Linked DNA regions of Homo sapiens: regions 2, 3, 4, 5 and 6 are each linked to region 1. The links are contacts of gene promoters, found by promoter capture Hi-C in human tissues and cell types (Jung and others, 2019). All regions are on one chromosome and are shown on one strand. The core of a region is centred on a gene start or on the middle of the fragment in contact, and the rest is flanking DNA. Distances in the headings are between cores, read along the strand shown. Region 1 holds the start of ZNF611 (zinc finger protein 611). Region 2 overlaps ZNF880 (zinc finger protein 880). Region 3 overlaps ZNF665 (zinc finger protein 665). Region 4 overlaps ZNF610 (zinc finger protein 610). Region 5 overlaps LOC124904792 (zinc finger protein 480-like). Region 6 overlaps ZNF480 (zinc finger protein 480).

Region 1 (3,153 bases), core at 292-2,791:
TGGCTCACGCCGTAACCCCAGCACTTTAGGAGGCTGAGGCAGGCAAATAACTTGGAGTGAGGAGTCCGATACCGGCCTGGTCAACATGGTCAACCCCGTCTCTACTAAAAATACAAAAATTAGCCTGGCATGGTGGCGCACGCCTGTAATGCCAGCTGTTCCCAAGGCTGGGGCAGGAGAATCGCTTGAACCCAGGAGGCAGAGGATGCATTTAGTCGAGATCTCGCCACTGCACTCCAGCCTGGGCAACAGAGAAATACTCTGTCTCAAAAATAATAATAATAATAATAATAATAATAATAATAATACAAGAAAGTAATAGATCTCTTCCATAAATGTGCTAGGACAACTATCTGGATATCCACATGGAAAAGAATAATGTTGGATCCCTATGTCACACAATCAAAAATTTTATTTGCGAAAGTTTTTTTTAAAAAAAAAGAGAGAGAGAGAGACAAGAAAGGGAGACCGCGGCAGTGGGCGTTATTTTGTCGCTCAGGCTGGCTTGGAACCCGAGGCTCAGGGATCCTCCCGCCGCTGCTTCCTGAGTAGCTGGGACCTCAGGCTCCCGCCCCCGCGCCTCTGCTGTCTTTAAGCAGCAGGTGGTGACCTCACTCCTTCTCGGCCTGAGCACTCCGTCCGGCATTCCAGGCGGTGGCTTCAGGGAAGTCTCTGAAGCTGAGCACAGGGCGGAGTCTCCTTCCGGAGTGAATGGACAATAGAAAGGGAGAGGATATCTATCTGTTCTGTGGGACCTCAGCATGACATGGTACATACCGCCCAGGCAGGGCTTTGCATTTCACATTCTAGTTTGTATCCCTGTTCCAGACAATTACAGTGTAGCAGGACGAGTCGCAGACAAAACCTCTCAGACACCGAGTTGTAGAAGGAAGGGCTTTATTCAGCTGGGAGCATTGGCAAGCTACTGCCTTAAAATCCAAGCTCCCCGAGTGCACAATTTCTGTCCCTTTTAAGGGCTCACAACACTAAAGATTTCAGATGAAAGGATAGTGACTGATTGAGCAAGCAAGGGATACGTGACAGGGGCTGCATGCACCGGTGATCAGGGAGAGAGAGAACAGGGCAGGAGTTTCACCGTGTTCTTCTATACAATGTCTGGAATCTATGCCTAACATCAGCTTCTAAATCATAAGTTGATTTTTAACTACTGGGTTTAGGCCAGGCGGATCCAGGCCTGGTTTCGGGCCTGGCGCGGGGCTGCCTGTCTTTGGTTTTACTTCCTGTTGTTTTTACTGACTATAAAACAATATAAAACAATGTCAGAGGGTCTCTCTCTTCTCTCAACAGGGCTTTTGTATCATGCCTCAGACTTTCTGGCGCTCTCGCCTCCAAAACCTGAAAACAGAGACGCTGGGAGCGAGGCTGAGAGACGCGCAGATCCCGCCCCGGCCCTGCCCTCTGCCGGTTCTAAAAGGCAAGGTCTCTCCGCCTCGCGCCCCGCCCCTACCTCGCCCAGGCCCCGCCTACCTCCCACTTCCCGCCCAGGCCTGGCTTTTGTCCTGCGCGCGCAGATTAACGCAAACCCGGAAGCGGATCGGGTGGAGTGTAGGTCATATCGCCGCGGTGAGTTTTGCTCTGTGTTGTATTAAGTCTGCGCTAACTAGGTTCCCAGGGCTTCTGTCCCTGGGACGTGGGGTCCCCACAGACCTGGAAATTCTCCGGCGTCTTCCTTTGCCCAGAGCAAATTGAGACATCCCCGTGAGAGCCCGAGGGTCGCTTCCTTTTGGGTTTAAAGTCGTCCTGAGGCTGGTCTCGTCCCCGGTCTTTCTGCTATAGGTCAATGTATACACTTTCTGTTGCGTAGTTTTCCTGCTGAAAACCTTGTTCTGACTCCTCGCGCCCCGCGCTTTTTAAAGTCTTCACCCGCGATGTGGATTCTTGCCCAGGGCGCCTCCCAGCCTCCCCCTCCTCAGCCCCGGGAGCGCCGCGCCGCAGCCCCAGTCCCGGGGAGGCCGAGTCCTCTGCCAGGTCCTGGGATCCTGCAGACCCCATCCTGGTCCTAAGGCGCCGTCGCGCCCCCCCCCCCCGCCCCGCACCTTCCTCCTCATGCCGGGGCCTGCTGCTCCCCAGGTCTCCCCTCCGCAGTCACCGCTTTCATTGAACCTGCACTGGGGAGGTCCCAGGGGCCTGTCCTGCGGCACGGGGTATTCTTGCCTGCGGAGCTCCAGGGCGTGGAAAATGCGCTCCTCCGGGATGCAGGCGTCTTACTCCAAACCGTGTTGCGATTGTGTGGGCCAAAGGAATCAGGAGACAGAGAGCAGTAGAAAACCTGAGGCAGAGAAAAGAAGAATAAGAAAGGCCCATAACAGATGGCAAAATAGAGGATTGGTGAGGGATATGCCAAGAGATGGCAGAAGTGAAAAAAAAAAAAAAAAACCTAAGAAAGCAGGAGGAGAAAAGCAACCGGAGAAATGTAGAGAAAGGCTAGATAGATGTACAGAGAGATGAAGGATCACAAGGTAGGGGGAGTGGCAGCAAAGAGGGAGACTCATCAGAGTGAGGGAGAGAGGGAAGGATTTGGAGCCAGGGCAGACAGAGCAGAGTGGTGCTTGTGTCAAGGAGAACAGAGGGAGAACCACAGCAGAGAGGACAGCTGGGATCTGGGGAGACACAGAGTGGGGACAAGGGAGTATATCGGGGAAGATGGAATTTAACAGGGAGAGCAGAGGAGGCGCAGAGATGGGAGAAGAGGCAGAAATAGATGGAGATTGAGGACGATTGAAAGATTGGGGAGAAGGAGCAATAAGAGGTTAAATAAGTTGTGAGGATGGAGGAGAAGAGGTGGAAGAGAAGGAATAAAGGGAAGAAGGGGATGAATAGCAGGAGAGGAGAGGGGTACAAAATGAAGAGCAGAATCCCAGGGAAAAAGAAAAGAAAACAAGAGCTAGAGAGAGAAGGGGAGAATGAGAGATATGTACAGAATTAGGGAGGGAAGCACAGTAATGAAGAAAGAGGGTCTGGACACAGTGGCTCACGCCTGTAGTCTGTAGTCTCCACACTTTAGGAGACTGAGGCAAGGGGATTGCTTGAGTCCAGGAGTTCGAGACCAGCTTGGGCAACATAGTGAGACCTCCCCCCCGCCAAAAAAGTAAGTAAATAACCGGGCATAATGGTGTGCACCTGTACTCCCAG
Region 2 (3,449 bases), core at 325-2,824, 350 kb after region 1:
CAGTTATTTGGGAGGCTGAAGCAGAAGAATTGCTTCAACCTGGGAGGTGGAGGTTGCAGTGAGCCGAGATCGTGCCACTGCACTCCAGACTCTGTCTCAAAAAAAAAAAAAAAAAGAAAATTTATGAACATTAATATTTTCCACTTACGTCACTGAGCACTACTAGGAAAAAAAAAAAAGACATGCACTACTAGGAAAAAAAAGACATTGTGGTACAGTATTTTCACTCTTATTAACATACTTTCTTTCATTTAATAGTATTTGTCGCCAGGCACAGTGGCTCACGCCTGTAATCCTAGCACTTTGGGAGGCCGAGGCAGGCAGATTGCCTGAGTTCAGGAGTTCGAGAACAGCCTGGGCAACATGGTGAAACCCCGTCTCTAATAAAATACAAAAAATTAGCTGGGCGTGGCAGCGTGCGCCTGTAGTCCCAGCTATTAGGGAAGCTGAAGCAGGAGAATTGCTTGAACCCGGGAGGCAGAGGTTGCAGTGAGCCGAGATTGTGCCACTGCACTCCAGCCTGGGTGACAGAGCAAGACACTGTCTCAAAAAAAAAAAAAAGTATTTGTCATATATTTGTATTTTTGCTTCATAAAAATTAAGGTGCATGCCATGAGTCTTCCTTGGCACACAATAGGCACGTAGAAATATAATGAACAGTGAATGTTTCATGGACTTTTGAGGGTGTAGGAGGCTGAAGTGGCACAGAAAGAATAACTCAAGTATTAAGTATGATTAGTGTAAATTATACTTACCCAAGGATATGCACCACAAGTGTGTGCATATGTTGATTTCACACACACAAAATTGTTCTGGATGCGTCAACCTTAATGGTGCATTTTTTAAAAATGCCTATTTTACACTAAAGTTAGAGTGATTAGACACATATCACTGCTACATAACTCAGTGTGAAGACAAAGAAAACCAAATTGCAGAGTATTTACTATTAATGTTGCATTACTGTGCAGTATATTCTCCTAAGGGGGACTAAAACAATTGGTAGAAATGATGTGATTCATTCATACTTAGGAAAATTTTATTAATTAAAACATGAGAACTATGTACATTCTAAATCAAACAGTTGGAAATTATGCCAACAGTTAAATGTAAATGCTACTCAAGAACATGGCATACTGGTAGTTTAAATTCTCTAATCAACTGTTCTCTCTTCCATTTCAAAAATGACCACTATTTTTTTTTTTTTTTTTTTTGAGACAGAGTTTTGCTCTTGTCACCCAGGCTGGAGTGCAATGGTGCGATCTTGGCTCACTGCAACCTCTGCCTCCCGGGTTCAAGCGATTCTCCTGCCTCAGCCTCCCGAGTAGCTGGGATTACAAGCATCTACCACCACGCTCAGCTAATTTTTGTATTTTTAGTAGAGATGGGGTTTGGAGATATTGACCAGGCTGGTCTCAAACTCCTGACCTCAAGTGATCCACCCACCTTGCCTCCCAAAGTGCTGGGATTACAGGTGTGAGCCACCGCGCCCAGCCAAAAATGACTACTTTTTAATCATTCTTGCCTAAACAGTGATTGCTATGCAGTCCTAGTGCCCACCATCTCCCTTGCATGATTTCTACAGATATGCTCTATTTCATGGCTAGTTGGTAGAGCACAGAAGCACTGTGCCATTCTGTCAGGAAAAAAGTGCTCAGCAACAGTATGATGACTGCCATCATCATTTTATATGATTCCTCCCCACCTCCATGCTCTCTAAATCAGACAATAATAAGAAAACGCAGTGTCCTTCTTCCTCGGCAAACTGATAGAAATGATTCTCAGCTAATGAAGTCATCCCTGTCATCATACTGCTTCTTTTTCTTTCTTTTTTTTTTTTTTTTTGAGACAGAGTCTCACTCTGTCCCCCAGGCTGGAGTGCAGTGGCGTGATAGCTCACTGCAAGCTCCACCTCCCAGGTTCACACCATTGTCCTGCCTCAGCCTCCCGAGTAGCTGGGACTACAGGCGTCTGCCACCATGCCTGGCTAATTTTTTGTATTTTTAGTAGAGATGGGGTTTCACCATGTTAGCCAGGATGGTCTTGATCTCCTAACCTCGTGATCCGCCCGCCTCAGCCTCCCAAAAGTACTGAGATTACAGGCGGGAGCCACCGCGCCCAGCATCCTACTGATTCAAGAGACCACAGTGAAAGGTCTGTAAAGAAGTCACATGAAGTGATTTCAGAGTTGAGGATGAAAGTCATAAAATGTAAAGTAGCCTTTTCAAAAAACCCCATATAATTAGGTTTTTTAATTGCCTGAATATAACTGACCATTTCCACATGCCCTTGGACCTTCGACATGCATCGCGTCATGAGATTCAACGTATTTGGAGCTGTGACTTTTCTGCAGCATGCAGTATCATAAATATTGGAGAACTAGAGACTGAATTATCGCTTGTGTAAATCTTATCATGTTCCATAGTAATGGTCCTTGAATAATAGCCTCAGCATACATAATCCATCTGTATGGTTTCATCCAAGATGTATGTTTTGATATCTAGTCATTTGGCAGGCCTCAAGAGACCTGATTCACATACATTGCTATGATTTCTCTTTAGTATGGAATCTCTGATGTTGATTAATGCTAGAACTTAGCATGAAGAGTTTGCCATACTCAGTTTGTAAGAACTCTCTCATGAATGAATTATCTCATGCTGTGCAAGGTGTGAATTATTACTAAAGATCTTACCACACACATTTCATCTGTACGGTTTCTCTCCAGTATGGATTCTGTGATGATTTGCCAGGTTTGAATTTCGAGTGAAGTCCTTACCACATTCATGACATCTGTACGGTTTCTCCCCAGTATGAATTCTCTCATGTTTTTTTAGGTATAACTTGTGGCTGAAGACCTTGCCACATTCATTGCATTTGTAAGACTTCTCTCCAGTATGAATTTGCCTATGTCGTGCAAGGTGTGAATTGTGACTAAAGACTTTGTGACATTCACTGCATTTGTAAGGTTTCTCTCCAGTATGGATTCTGTGATGATTTGCAAGGTTTGAATTTCGAGTGAAGTCCTTGCCACATTCATCACATCTGTAAGGTTTCTCTCCAGTATGAAATCTCTGATGATTGCTTAGGGATAATCTATGCCTGAAGACCTTGGCACATTCTTTACATTTGTAAGGTTTCTCTCCAGTGTGAATTAGTAGATGGGCAGTAAGGCCTGAACAGTCTCTAAATGCTTTGCCACATTCATTACATTTGTAAGGTTGCTCTCCCGTGTGCATTCTATGATGATTGGTTAGACAAAACTTGTGCCTGAAGACCTTGCCACATTCTTTACATTCATAAGGTTTCTCTCCAGTATGGATTCTTTGATGTCTGGTAAGGTGTGCATTTCGATTGAAGACCTTGCCACATTTATTACATTTGTAAAGTTTCTCTCCAGTGTGAATTACAAGATGAGCAGTAAGGCCTGAACCCCCTGAAAATGCTTTGCCACA
Region 3 (3,315 bases), core at 39-2,538, 430 kb before region 1:
GTTTTCCAATTCAAAATTACTAGTTCTTTAATTATTCATTACATATGTTTGCTGTGAGTTATTTGCCATTAGAGTATATCATGTTGTGCTTCAGCATTTACTTATGCATAACAAATATGCTTTAAATAGGCACAATCTAAGAATTATTTCTCTTGAATTCTGTGACAGCCATATAAAATATACTGCCAATTGGTAGCCTTGGGTCATGGTTGAAAAATACTCCTTTCAGGGCTAATATGGGTTTGCACAATATGAGTGTTTTGTTCACAGAATGTTTAAAACTAGGATCCCCTACTATTTGAATTACATGTTACCACCTTTTCTTTGATAAGGAATCCTGTTCCTTTTGTGTTCTGGAAAATTATGGTTCTGAAGAATCGTAAGTCTGTTCAACATAACTATTACTTTTGGTGTAACATTAGGTTTTTCAATGGGAAATAGTTATTTACCTACTATAGTTAACTGGAAATCTATGGTTGTTTATATCTTACAGATATCTCTTGTAAATGTGTAAACACGGATTTGCCACCAAAGGGGAAGAACAATATGGGAGAAGCGTTCTACACGGTGAAGTTGGAGAGACTTGAAAGCTGTGACACTGTAGGCTTGTCCTTCCAGGAAGTTCAGAAAAATACATACGACTTTGAGTGTCAGTGGAAAGATGATGAAGGAAATTATAAAACAGTACTTATGTTGCAAAAAGAAAATCTCCCTGGTAGAAGAGCTCAACGTGATAGAAGGGCTGCAGGAAACAGGCATATTGAAAATCAGCTTGGAGTAAGCTTTCAGTCACATCTCCCTGAACTGCAGCAATTTCAACATGAAGGGAAAATTTATGAATACAATCAAGTTGAGAAGTCTCCTAATAATCGAGGAAAACATTATAAATGTGATGAATGTGGCAAGGTCTTCAGTCAAAACTCACGGCTAACAAGTCATAAGAGAATTCATACTGGAGAGAAGCCTTACCAGTGTAATAAGTGTGGCAAAGCCTTTACTGTTCGTTCAAACCTAACAATCCATCAGGTCATCCATACTGGAGAAAAACCTTACAAATGTAATGAATGTGGAAAGGTCTTCAGTCAACCTTCAAACCTTGCAGGTCATCAGAGAATTCATACTGGAGAGAAACCTTACAAGTGTAATGAGTGTGGCAAAGCCTTTAGAGCACATTCAAAACTAACTACACATCAGGTCATCCATACTGGAGAAAAACCTTACAAATGTAAGGAATGTGGCAAGTGCTTCACTCAAAATTCACACCTTGCAAGTCATCGAAGAATTCATACTGGGGAGAAGCCTTACAAGTGTAATGAGTGTGGCAAAGCCTTTAGTGTTCGCTCAAGCCTGACTACCCATCAGACAATCCACACTGGAGAAAAACCTTACAAATGTAATGAATGTGGCAAGGTCTTCAGGCACAATTCATACCTTGCAAAGCATCGGCGAATTCATACTGGTGAGAAACCTTACAAGTGTAATGAGTGTGGGAAAGCCTTCAGTATGCATTCAAACTTAACTAAGCATCAGATCATCCATACCGGAGAAAAGCCTTTCAAATGTAATGAATGCGTCAAGGTTTTCACTCAGTATTCACACTTAGCAAATCATCGAAGAATTCATACTGGAGAGAAACCTTACAGGTGTGATGAGTGTGGCAAAGCCTTTAGTGTGCGATCAAGCCTAACTACCCATCAGGCAATTCATACTGGAGAAAAGCCTTACAAATGTAATGACTGCGGTAAGGTCTTCACACAAAATTCACACCTTGCAAGTCATCGGGGAATTCATTCTGGAGAGAAACCTTACAAGTGTGATGAATGTGGTAAAGCCTTCAGTCAAACATCACAACTTGCAAGGCATTGGAGAGTTCATACTGGAGAAAAACCTTACAAGTGTAATGAGTGTGGCAAAGCCTTTAGTGTTCATTCAAGCCTAACTATACATCAGACAATACATACTGGACAAAAACCATACAAATGTAATGATTGCGGCAAGGTCTTCAGACACAATTCGTACCTTGCAATTCATCAGAGAATTCACACTGGTGAGAAACCTTATAAGTGTAATGAGTGCGGCAAAGCATTTAGTGTACATTCAAACCTAGCTACCCATCAGGTCATCCATACTGGAGAAAAACCTTACAAATGTAATGAATGTGGCAAGGTCTTCACTCAAAATTCACATCTTGCAAATCATAGAAGAATTCACACTGGAGAAAAACCTTATAGGTGTAATGAGTGTGGGAAAGCCTTCAGTGTTCGTTCAACCCTAACTACCCATATGGCAGTCCATACTGGAGACAAACCTTACAAATGTAACCAATGTGGCAAGGTCTTTACTCAAAATTCAAACCTTGCAAAACATCGAAGAATTCATAGTGGATAGAAACCTTACAAAGGACGCCGGGCGTGGTGGCTCACGCCTGTAATCCCAGCACTTTGGGAGGCCGAGGCGGGGGGATCACCTGAGGTCTCGAGTTCGAGACCAGGCTGGCCAACACGGTGAAACGCTGTCTCTACTAAAAATACAAAAATTAGCTGGGTGTGGTGGTGCACGCCTGTAATCCCAGCTACTCGGGAGGCTGAGGCAGGAGAATCACTTGAACCTGGGAGGCGGAGGTTGCAGTGAGCGAGATCATGCCATTGCACTCCAGCCTGGGCAACAGGAGTGAAACTCCATCTCCAAAAAAAAAAAAAAAAAAAAAGTAACCTTACAAAGGAGTGCGGCCAGTTTTTCAGCCACAAATTCTTTCACAACATCAGAGAATTCATTCTTGAGACAATTCTTACAAATACAGTGACTGTGGCAAACTCCTGATGAGTTTAAGCATTAACAGACATCAGAGTTCAAATCCTGTGAATATACTATGTATGACAGAAGCTTTATCCAGGTCTCAGAGCTCAATACGCATCAAAAGATACATCTTTGATGAAGTCACACAAACGTAACATGCATGCTGAGACTATTACTCCTGGACCACAACTGTAGGTGAGGATTCATAGGAAGAGTAGAACTCAGTCTCTAGTTTCCTCATAACCCTCTGATATTATATACTTCAGCATAATCAGAAGTCCAAATGTGTTAAAACTCATTACATGATACATATCAAAGGTTGTAGGATGTTTGGAAATGGCCAATTACTTTCAGCTTATAAAATGTTTTGTTGAAGTATTTAAGATTTATTGAAAAGGCTACTATTTATAACTTCCAACCAGAACTTTGCAATGTGCTGATTTTATACATGATTATACGCCTAACATGGTGTTGTTCGGGAAAGAATCAAAGGATGGAAGGGCTCACTCACTTCATTAG
Region 4 (3,625 bases), core at 305-2,804, 380 kb after region 1:
AGAGGCCTGGACTTATGACCCGTGTCTGAAAGGGGGCAGTATTGGAGACTGAGCCCTCAACCTGTGGCATGTGACACGCTCTCCAGGTACACAGCATCAGAATAGAATTCAAGGGCCCCCAGCAAGTAGCCACTGCAGAACTGATTGCTTATTGGTGGAAGTAAAACTCACATTTGGTGACATAAGTTGTCTGTGTTTATTGTTGCGTGGTGCAAGACCAGACAGAGGAAGATACGGTTTGAGTTTTGCCCCTCAGTCTTAAATAACAAATTACGGCAAGTCAGTGTAATGGTATTTCTGAGATTAAGATGGCAACAATTTTAAAACAGCATATTCTTAAGATATAAAAAATTTCCATATTATACACTGTAATACATTTAATTGGCAAAAGTGTTGTTCAATAGTAGCTACTAAGTCACGTACAACAAAGGAAAACAAATATTTAAACTCCTATTCAAAAATTTCTGGAGTGTCAGTTTTAGAGACTCTCCTGCTGAGGCATACCCTGTGCATTTAAAAAAACCACACTCAAAAATATATAAATCAATGGCCATTCCCTGATACTACAGCCCTACAGATACAAAATAATAAACACAAAGAGTATTATATGAAATATGGAACTGCTGACTAAATATACAAAAACCAAGTTAATTTATAATACATGGAAAGGTACAAGATGAAAGTAACAGTGGTTTGAACAAATGATGGTAGTGTTAAAACCAGAAGCATCTGGTTGCTATTTTGTGCCATGTTCCCCATGGGGACCTAGGGATCGAATACAGGGTCTTTCTGTTGACTATCTGCCCCACTCAGCTGAGTAAGCATCTCAGAAGAGCCACCTACTCCCCTGTGACACACACCAGTAAAGTGTGGATGAAGCACAACTGAAGAATGGCTGAGGGGCCTTGTGGAATAAGAATACATACATACATTGGTCTCTTCCCCGGTTCCTGACACAGAGCTCTGAAGACCTTGAGATGTCCTGGGTGGTACGAGTGTGATCTGCTCTAATGAGGCAACCTTTGTGGGTTCCTTGGATGGGGCTGATTACCAGAAAGACCAGGCCATACTTAGAAGCATGAAACTGTCAGCCCCACCCACTAGCTTCTAGGAGAGGGGCTGGAGATTGAGTTAATATCAATCACGCCTACGTGATGAAGCCGCTCGTGAACTATGGGGTCACAAGAGGTTCCAAATGCTGAAGACACACAGGCGCCTGGAGGGCGGCACACCCAGTCAATCTTCCCACGTGCCTCGCCCTGTGAATCTCCTCATCTGGCTGTCCATCTGTATCCTTAGAAACATCCTGCATCATGAACCAGTGAACCTAATGAAGTGTCTCACTGAGTTCTGTGAGCCACCCGAGCAAAGTAATCAACCCAAGAAGGGAGTCGAGGGAACCCAGCTTACAGCTGTGTTGGTCAGACAGAAAGGTGACAATCTACTACTAACAAGTGGTGGCTGAGGTGGGCGACAGGCTTGGGAACCCAACCCTTAGCCTGTGGGATCTGATTCTAACTCCAGGTAGACAGTGTTAGAAATGAATTATAGAAAACCCAGTAAAGATCCAGTGAAAAATTGCCGATGGGGAGAAATCCCCACACATTTTGGTGACCAGAAGTGAAATGCTCTGTGCTGAGTGGCATGTGAGAATAGGAAAATCACTGGCTTCTTCCCATCCAAATAGACCTGAACAGGCAGAGGGGGCTGGAGGCACCTGTAGTTTCCAGGGCCCAGATGCAAAAAAGAGTAGCTCATGTTCTCTCATTTCCTGATTACATCTTCCCATTACAGGAAATGGGGTGGACCATGAATAGGTCAAGGGGGCAGGTCTATGAAGACCTCAGCTTTGACCTACAGGGACAGAAACTAAGCATCAGATGGAATCAAGTACAGGAAGAAAGACCACAGGGGAAAGAGACCCCTGGCAACAATGCTCCCTGTGTTCTTCAGAATCATGGAACAAAAGTTCACAGAAGCCACATGACAGGGTGCTGTCCATCAGGATAAAGACTTTGCTTTTGTCTCTGGGTGGCAACACCACTCGAGGGTGAAAAGATGAAACTATCACACATTTATAGAACTGAGTGACAAGAGAGAGCAAAGAAATATTTCCATTCAGAATGCCTAGGATTTAAACTTTTCTTTTCTCACAGAACTCTCCCACCTTTGGAGAGTTTCCCACACACTCTTGAATAGTTAGTATGGGCTGGGTGTGGTGGCTCACGTCTGTAATCCCAGGACTTTGGGAGGCTGAGGCAGGCAGATCACTTGAGGTCAGGAGTTTGAGACCCACCTGTCCAACATGGTGAAATTCCGTCTCTACTAAAAACACAAAAATTAGCTGGGTGTGGTGACACATGCCTGTAATCTCAGCTACTGGGGAGGCTGAGGCACGAGAATCACTTGAACCTGGGAGGCAGAAGTTGCAGTGAGCCGAGATCACACCACTGCACTCCAGCCTGGGCAACGGAGTGAGACAAAAAAAAAAAAAAAAAAAAAAAATAGTATGGCTTTGCAAGGTGCAGTGGCTATAATCTACAACTTTGGGAGGCCAAGGCAGGAGGATTGCTTGAGTCCAGGAGTTTGAGGCTGCAGTGAGCTATGATTGCCACTGCACTACAGCCTGGGTGATAGCGGAACACCCTGGCTCAAAAATAAAAAAATAAAAACTATGGCCTCCACACTGCCCATCAGAGCTCTTACCTGTGTTCACGCTTCTGACACATTCCCTTCCATCTGTATTTTTTACTATTTTAACTTGACTTTGCAGAATCAAGGGCTCTCTCCTTTGCTTCAACATGGAAATAATACTTAGGTCAGGAAGACAGATTCCTGTTAATAAAAAGAAAGAAACAAGATGTGCTGGGGCATTTCCAAAACCCAAACCCTGTGTTTAGGTAAGAGAGGGGATATCGCAAATGGATCAAGAATAATATCTCACAAGTTCACCCACAGACTGGCTCCTTCTGAATGCTTAGGGAATATGCAATATGTAGACACTGAGATCTCTTCCAAGAACTACTGACTTGTAAGCACAGGGGAGAAAACAGAGAACTGGTTATCCGGTGCCACCCAATGATGTATTATGAAGGGGGCGGTACATCTGAAGAAAGGACGCATTTCAAATCCAGAGAGCATAATAGAGCTTTTCATTTCTGAGTCAACAAGGTTTCTACCTCAGTTAAGCAATTTAGGGGCTCCCAAGAGGCACGCAAGAGAAAATGCAAAGACAGATTAGAGCAGATCCCGGCTTCTGGAGGGAAGTCATCCTCACCCAGAAAGACCAGGTTCCTGTAGTTCTCCAACATCACGTCCCTGTATAAAGCCCTCTGTCCAGGGTCCAGGGATTTCCACTCCTCCTGAGAGAATTCGATGGCCACGTCCATGAATGTCAAGCGTCCCTAAAATGAGGACCACATTGTTTACAACACTAAAAATGTAGAAATTGTACTCAATTTAGTTGATAAACATTTTTGAATATTAAGCTATTAAAAATGGCAGATCATTAAAAAACATAGAAACTTCAATTCCAATCTCTAGTAAATGTTCACATTCAAAAATATGTAGTATTTTTAAAAATTCAGATGGGGTTTTACTAGGTTGCCCAGAAAGATCTCAAACT
Region 5 (3,211 bases), core at 67-2,566, 470 kb before region 1:
ATGGAGGCCTCAGCTCTGATCTGTATAGACAGAGAACTGAGCATCAGACGCAGTCAGGTACAGGAGAGATCACAGGAGACCTCTTGGACACAACCCTCCCTGTGCCCCTCAGAGTGAAGAAACCAAAGAGGTCACAGAAGCCACATGACAGGGTGTTGTCCATCATGATAAAGACTTTGCCTTTGTCACTGTTGGAGCTGTAGCGCCATGGGAGTGTGAAAGGATAAACTACTACACGTCAGAAGAGCAGAGGGATAAATGAGGGCAAAGAAAGGTTTCCATTGAGAGCTCACAGGATTTAAACCCTTTTTGTTCCACAGAACTCTTCAACTCGGAAGGAGTTACCTGAATACTAATGGTGCAGCTTCCTCTCTGTCCATTTGAGCTCTTACCTGTGTTCACACCTTTGATGCATTCCCAACCACTTGATGTTTTTGTTATTTTCACTTCACTCTCCACAGTCCAGGGCTCTTTCCCTTGCCCCAACATGGAGGTAATACTCATTTCAGAAAGAGAGATTCCTGCTTAGAAAAAGAAAGGCATGTAATGTGCTGTGGCTTTTACAGAATCCCAGCCCTTTGTTTAGAGGAGGAAAGAGGACATTACAAATGGATCTAGAAAAATATTTCACAAATTCACCCACTGAATGCCTCCTTCTGAATGTTTAGGGAACATGGTAAAATACGAACATCGAACTGTCCTCTAGGAAGTACTGAATCACAAGCAAAGGGGCAGAAAAGAGCAAAGTGGATTTTTTTACTTTTTCTTTTTCTTTTTTTTTTTTTTTTGAGATGGAGTTTCGCTCTTGCTGCCCAGGCTGGAGTGCAGTGGCGCGATCTCGGTTTACTGCAACCTCCGCCTCCCGGGTTCAAGTGATTCTCCTGCCTTGGCCTCCCAAGTAGCTGGGATTACAAGCGCTCGGCACCACGCCTGGCTAATTTTTTGTATTTTTAGTAGAGATGGGGTTTCACCATGTTGGCCAGGCTAGTCTCAAACTCCTGACCTCAGGTGACCCACCCGCCTTGGCCTCCCAAAGTGCTGGGATTACAGGCGTGAGCCACCACGCTGGCCCAAAGTAGATATTTTTAAAGTCTACCATAGGGTTTATTTCTACTTAAGCTCTGGAACCACCAATGATATATCTTGAAGGAGGTAGATCATTTGAAAATGGGATAATTAAGTCCAGATGCTGCACTATTAAGCTTTTCATCTGAGAATTAACATAGCTTCAGTCTTAATTGAGCAATGCAGGGGCTCCCAAGAGGCACACAGGGAACATGCAGAGATACAGCAGAGCAGATCCCAGCTTCTGGAGGGGCATTATCCTCACCCAGGGAGACCAGGTTCCTGTAGTTCTCCAACATCACGTCCCTGTACAAAGCCCTCTGAGCAGGGTCCAGGCATTTCCACTCCTCCTGAGAGAATTCGATGGCCACGTCCCTGAATGTCAACCTTCCCTGATATGAAAAAACACATTTCACCAAGAAGTCATGGGGAGAGCTATTATCTTCACACAAAATGACAAAAAGAGAGGTATAAGTCAATTTAGTTTAAATGAACGTTCTGGGAAATCCATGGAAAGGTATTTTCAGGCAAACCGTGTCTGAAAAACACATTTTACCAAGCACATGGGGGAGAGTTATCATCTTTACATAAAATGAGAAAAAGAGAGAATTGTATTGATTTACTGAAGGGAGAGTTCTGGCAGATCCATGCTAAGGTATTTTGGGGCATTTAGGGACGTTAGGAAGAACATTAGGTATGTCTCCCTAATTGCATTTTATTATACTCTTCTGTAAGAGCTTATGATATCTTCTAAATAAGTGTGGATTTCTCTTTCTGTAGACAATGGAAGAAACGTAGAAATAAATAGTCAACACACAGCTATCTCTATAGAAGTGCTAGATATTATGTTTGACACACAAAGTGATATTCAGTATCTGGAGGAGCTGGAAGAAGTGTGTTGTCTTCAGAGATGACAATGTCCATGGTGTCTTTAAAGAAAGAAAGGTCAGAATCTAAAAAGTGTGGCCGGGCGTGGTGGCTCACGTCTGTAATCCCAGCACGTTGGGAGGCCAAGGCTGGTGATCATGAGGTCAAGAGATTGATATCATACTGGCCAACATGGTGAAACCCCGTCTCTACTAAAAATACGAAAATTAGCTGGGCGTGGTGGTGCACACCTGTAATCTCAGGTACTCGGGAGGCTGAGGCAGGAGAATCACTTGAACCAGGAGGTAGAGGTTGCAGTGAGCCGAGATCGCACCACTGCACTCCAGCCTGGGAAACAAAGTAAGACTCCGTCTCAAAAAAATAAATAAATAAAATAAAATAAAAAAATAAAAATACGGAACTGATTTATGAAATGGTGATGTGTCGTCTATAAACGCCATAGGATAGTTCATCCATACATTCATGCACACATATATACACGAATGTAAATTAACAAAGAGAAAACATGCCTCTCAATGACATACTTTTTATGACTTTTTCATTATCATTTTTCCTCATGTGCATTTCAGCATCTTGGGGACAGTAAAGTGTATAAGTTGTATTTAACTTAGTTTGTCAACATTATGTTATATAATGCCAATAAAAGAATGGTAAAAACATGAAAAAAATATTTAAAACTTTAACTCCAATCCCTATGAAATAGTTATAGTCAAACTACAAATAAAATTCTATCCATTTAAATTTAAATATTTAGGCTGGGCGCAGTGGCTCACGCCTGTAATCCCAGCACTTTGGGAGGCTGAGGCGGGAGGATCACCTGAGGTCAAGAGTTCGAGACCAGCCTGGGCAACGTGGTGAAATGGCGGGCACCTGTAGTCCCAGCTACTCGGGAGGCTGAGGCAGGAAAATCACTTGAACCCGGGAGGCAGAGGCTGCAGTGAGCCAAGATCGCACCACTGTACTCCAGCCTGGGTAACAAAAAAAACAAAAAACAAAAACAAACAACAAAAAAAAAGAAAAATGAATTAAAAGCCTCAACATATGACCTAACATGATAAAACTCCTAGAAGAAAGTGTAGGAGAAAAGGTTTGCGAAACTGAATTTTGCAGTCATTTCTAAGATATGACACCAAAGACACAGGCAAGAAAAGCAAAAATATACAAATGGGACTACATCAAACTTACAAACATCTCTGCATCAAAAGAAAGAATCAAGAGGCTGAAAAGCAACCTCCAAGAGAAGGATGTGCTGAAAATG
Region 6 (3,269 bases), core at 644-3,143, 430 kb after region 1:
CTGTCAAGCAGGGACTGAAAGAACTGTATGCAGATTTTATAGCTAGATTACAGGAGTCTCTTAAAAAGGTGATTGCAGATTCAGCTGCTCAGGACGTAGTGTTGTGGTTATTAGTTTTTGACAATGCCAATCCTGAGTGCCAAGCCACTCTGTGACCTATTAGGGGAAAAGCACATTTGGTTGACTATATTAAAGCTTGTGATGGTATTGGAGGTAATCTGCATAAGACTACTCTGCTAGCCCAGGCAATGGCAGGACTGAAAGTGGGTAAAGGAAATACTCCACTTCCTGGAGCTTGTTTTAACTGGGGGAAGCATGATCATATTGAAAAAGAATGTAGAAAAAACCAGCAAGTCAGGCTGCCAGTTGGGGGAAAAAAGAAATCTGCTGACCCTGAAATATGTCCAAAATGTAAAAAACGAAAACACTGGGCTAATCAGTGTCACTCTAAGTTTGATGAAGATGGGAACCCGATTTCAGGAAACGCCATGAGGGGCCCGTCCCAGGCCTCATTCCAAACCGGGGCATTTCCAGCTCAGGCCACTCCCTCACCCCCATACAATACCTGTCCCCTGCCATAGCTGGTAGTAGATTTATGCTGCACAAAACCTGTGAGCTTTCTGCCTGAGGAACCCCCGCAAAAAGTGCCAACAGGAGTCTGTGGCACCCCTTGCCAGTGGGGACAGTAGGATTACTTCTAGGTAGGTCTAGTTTAAATTTAAAAGGAGTGCAAGTACATGCAGGAGTCATTGATTCAGATTACAATGGGGAAATTTAAATTGTTATATCTACTTCTGTTCCCTGGAAAGCAGAGCCAGGAGAGCCCATAGCACAGCTCCTGTGCTACGAACAAGAGGATTTGGAAGCTCCTGTGCTATGAACTAAATGAACAGGAGGATTTGGAAGCTCGAATAAACAAGGCAAAGCAGCTTACTGGGTGAATCAAATTACTAATAAACATCCTACCTGTGAAATAACTATTAAGGAAAAAAATTTAAAGGATTGGTAGATACAGGAGAGGACATTTCAATCATTTCTCTACAGCACTGGCTGTCCGTGTGGCCAATTCAACCCACTCGATTTAACACAGTTGGAGTTGGCATAGCCCCTAAAGTATATCAAAGCAGTTATATATTGCATTGTGAAGGACCCAATGAACAATCTGGGACTATTCAACCAATTGTAACTTCTGTTTTTTGTTTTTTGTTTTTTTGAGACAGAGTCTGGCTCCATCCCCTAGGCTGGAGTGCAGTGGCGTGATCTCAGCTCACTGCAAGCTCTGCCTCCCAGGTTCACGCCATTCTCCTGCCTCAGCCTCCCAAGTAGCTGGGACCACAGGTGCCCACCACCATGCCCGGCTAATTTTTTTGTATTTTTAGTAGAGACGGGGTTTCACCATGTTGGCCAGGATGGTCTCAAACTCCTGACCTCGTGATCAACCCACCTTGGCCTCCCAAAGTGCTGGGATTACAGGCTTGAGCCACCACACCCAGCCAACCAATTGTAACTGCTGTACCTATAAATTTATGGGGAAGAGATTTATTACAGCAATGGGGAGCACAAGCGTTCATTCCAGAACAATTATATAGCCCTCAAAGTCAGCATACGATGCAAGAGATGGGGTATGTGCCTGGCATGGGATTAGAAAAAAATTTAAAAGGGTTAAAGAAACCACTTCAAGCAGAAGGACAAAATTCCCACCAGGGTTTAGGATATAATTTTTCATGGCAGCCATTGTTAAGCCTCCAGAACCTATACCTTTAAAATGGTTAACAAATAAACCAACTTGGATAAAACAATGGCCGCTAAGTAAAGAGAAACTGGAGGCTTTAGAGGACTTAGTTACTGAACAATTAGAAAAAGGACACACAGCTCCAACATTTTCCCCCTGGAATTCTCCAGTCTTTGTTATTAAGAAAAAAATCACATAAATGGAGCATGTTGACAGATCTTAGAGCCATTAATTCAGTTATACAACCTATGGGGACATTGCAGCCAGGACTGCCTTTTCCTGCTGATTCTAAAAAATTGGCCTTTAATAGTCATAGATTTAAAAGACTGTTTCTTTACTATCCCCTTAGCTGAGCAAGGCTGTGAACGGTTTGCATTTATAATTCCTGCGGTAAACAACCTGCAGCCTGCTAAGCGTTTTCATTGGAAAGTGTTGCCACAAGGCATGTTAAACTGTCCAACAATTTGTCAGACTTATGTAGAACAAGCAATTGAACCTACTCATAAAAAATTTTCAGTGTTATATTATTCATTATATGGACGATATTCTTTGTGCTGCCCCCACTCAGGAAATATTACTCCAATATTATGATCACTTAAAAAATTCGATTTCTCATGCCAGTTTAATTATAGCTCCTGACAAAAATTCAGACCACTACTCCTTACTCCTACTTAGGGACCTTAGTAAATGACACTACAGTAGTGCCACAGAAAGTAACCATAAGGATCAATTGAAAACACTGAATGACTTTCAAAAATTACTAAGGGACATTAATTGGATACAACCTGCTCTAGGCATTCCTACCTATGACATGAGTAATCTATTTTCTATCCTTAAAGGAGATCCTAGTCTCACTAGCCCTCAGCAATTAACAAAGGAGGCTGAGGCAGAGTTACAACTCATTGAAAAACAAGTACATAAAACCTCAAATAAATAGAATAGATCCAGAAAAGGCTTTAGATTTATTGATTTTTCCAACTTAGCATTCACCTACTGGTGTTACTGTCCAAAAGCAGACTTGGTAGAATGGCTTTTTCTTCCACATATGAATTCATGGATTCTAATTCATTATTTGGATCAAATTGCTACTCTGATAGGGAATGGGAGAATTTGAATTGTTAAACTGCATGGATATGACCCTGAAAAAATTATTGTCCCTCTTACAAAGGCACAAATACAACAATCCTTTATAAATCATCTTACTTAGCAAAACCACTTAGCTGATTTCGTGGGAGTGCTTAATAATCACTTTCCAAAAACAAAATTATTTCAATTTTTAAAACTAACTAGATGCTCCCTAGAATGACTAAATTTAAACCAATTAAAAGTGCTGAAAATGTTTTTACAGATGGGTCTAGTAACAGTAAAGCTTCTTACTCTGGATCAAAAACTAAAGTCTTCCACACGCCCTATACTTCAGCTCAAAAATCGGAGCTTGTAGCTGTAATTAAGGTACTGACTGCTTTTAAGATGCCTGTCAATGTAATTTCTAATTCTTCATATGTAGTCCATTCCACACAATTAAAAATGCTCAGTT

The links. Contacts are between HindIII fragments. The study calls those that stand out against the background at their distance.
Region 2: a fragment that was not itself captured here is called in contact with the fragment with the promoter of ZNF611 in region 1 in 1 of the 25 tissues and cell types used here (aorta).
Region 3: a fragment that was not itself captured here is called in contact with the fragment with the promoter of ZNF611 in region 1 in 1 of the 25 tissues and cell types used here (small bowel).
Region 4: a fragment that was not itself captured here is called in contact with the fragment with the promoter of ZNF611 in region 1 in 1 of the 25 tissues and cell types used here (aorta).
Region 5: a fragment that was not itself captured here is called in contact with the fragment with the promoter of ZNF611 in region 1 in 1 of the 25 tissues and cell types used here (small bowel).
Region 6: a contact is called between a fragment that was not itself captured here and the fragment with the promoter of ZNF611 in region 1, in 1 of the 25 tissues and cell types used here (adrenal gland).

What each region holds. Positions count from the first base shown.
Region 1 is chr19:52,733,432-52,736,584 of GRCh38, reverse strand. It overlaps ZNF611 (zinc finger protein 611), which reads left to right and starts at 1,541. Exons shown (of 6, transcript NM_001161499.2): 1 at 1,541-1,584. It overlaps LOC124904760 (a long non-coding RNA gene), which reads right to left and starts at 2,554. Exons shown (of 2, transcript XR_007067328.1): 1 at 2,125-2,554; 2 at 881-1,791. RefSeq lists enhancers at 1,126-1,255, 568-1,553 and a silencer at 1,436-1,505. The HindIII fragment of the contact is 18,911 bases long and covers 1-3,153 here.
Region 2 is chr19:52,384,565-52,388,013 of GRCh38, reverse strand. ZNF880 (zinc finger protein 880) reads right to left here. Exons shown (of 4, transcript NM_001145434.2): 4 at 2,219-3,449. The coding sequence ends at 2,700. Among named protein-coding and RNA genes, the nearest start is that of ZNF528-AS1, 11 kb to the left of the region's middle. The HindIII fragment of the contact is 8,137 bases long and covers 1-3,449 here.
Region 3 is chr19:53,163,526-53,166,840 of GRCh38, reverse strand. ZNF665 (zinc finger protein 665) reads left to right here. Exons shown (of 4, transcript NM_024733.5): 4 at 494-3,315. The coding sequence ends at 2,388. Among named protein-coding and RNA genes, the nearest start is that of ZNF347, 6.1 kb to the right of the region's middle. The HindIII fragment of the contact is 5,852 bases long and covers 1-3,315 here.
Region 4 is chr19:52,353,461-52,357,085 of GRCh38, reverse strand. It overlaps ZNF610 (zinc finger protein 610), which reads right to left. Exons shown (of 6, transcript NM_001161425.2): 4 at 3,278-3,404; 5 at 2,707-2,835. Among named protein-coding and RNA genes, the nearest start is that of ZNF880, 15 kb to the left of the region's middle. The HindIII fragment of the contact is 5,710 bases long and covers 1-3,625 here.
Region 5 is chr19:53,202,262-53,205,472 of GRCh38, reverse strand. It overlaps LOC124904792 (zinc finger protein 480-like), which reads right to left. Exons shown (of 5, transcript XM_047439805.1): 2 at 1,331-1,457; 3 at 393-524. Among named protein-coding and RNA genes, the nearest start is that of ZNF665, 11 kb to the right of the region's middle. The HindIII fragment of the contact is 4,533 bases long and covers 1-3,211 here.
Region 6 is chr19:52,303,043-52,306,311 of GRCh38, reverse strand. The region is part of intron 2 of ZNF480 (zinc finger protein 480); the gene reads right to left. Among named protein-coding and RNA genes, the nearest start is that of ZNF480, 7.5 kb to the right of the region's middle. The HindIII fragment of the contact is 3,790 bases long and covers 1-3,269 here.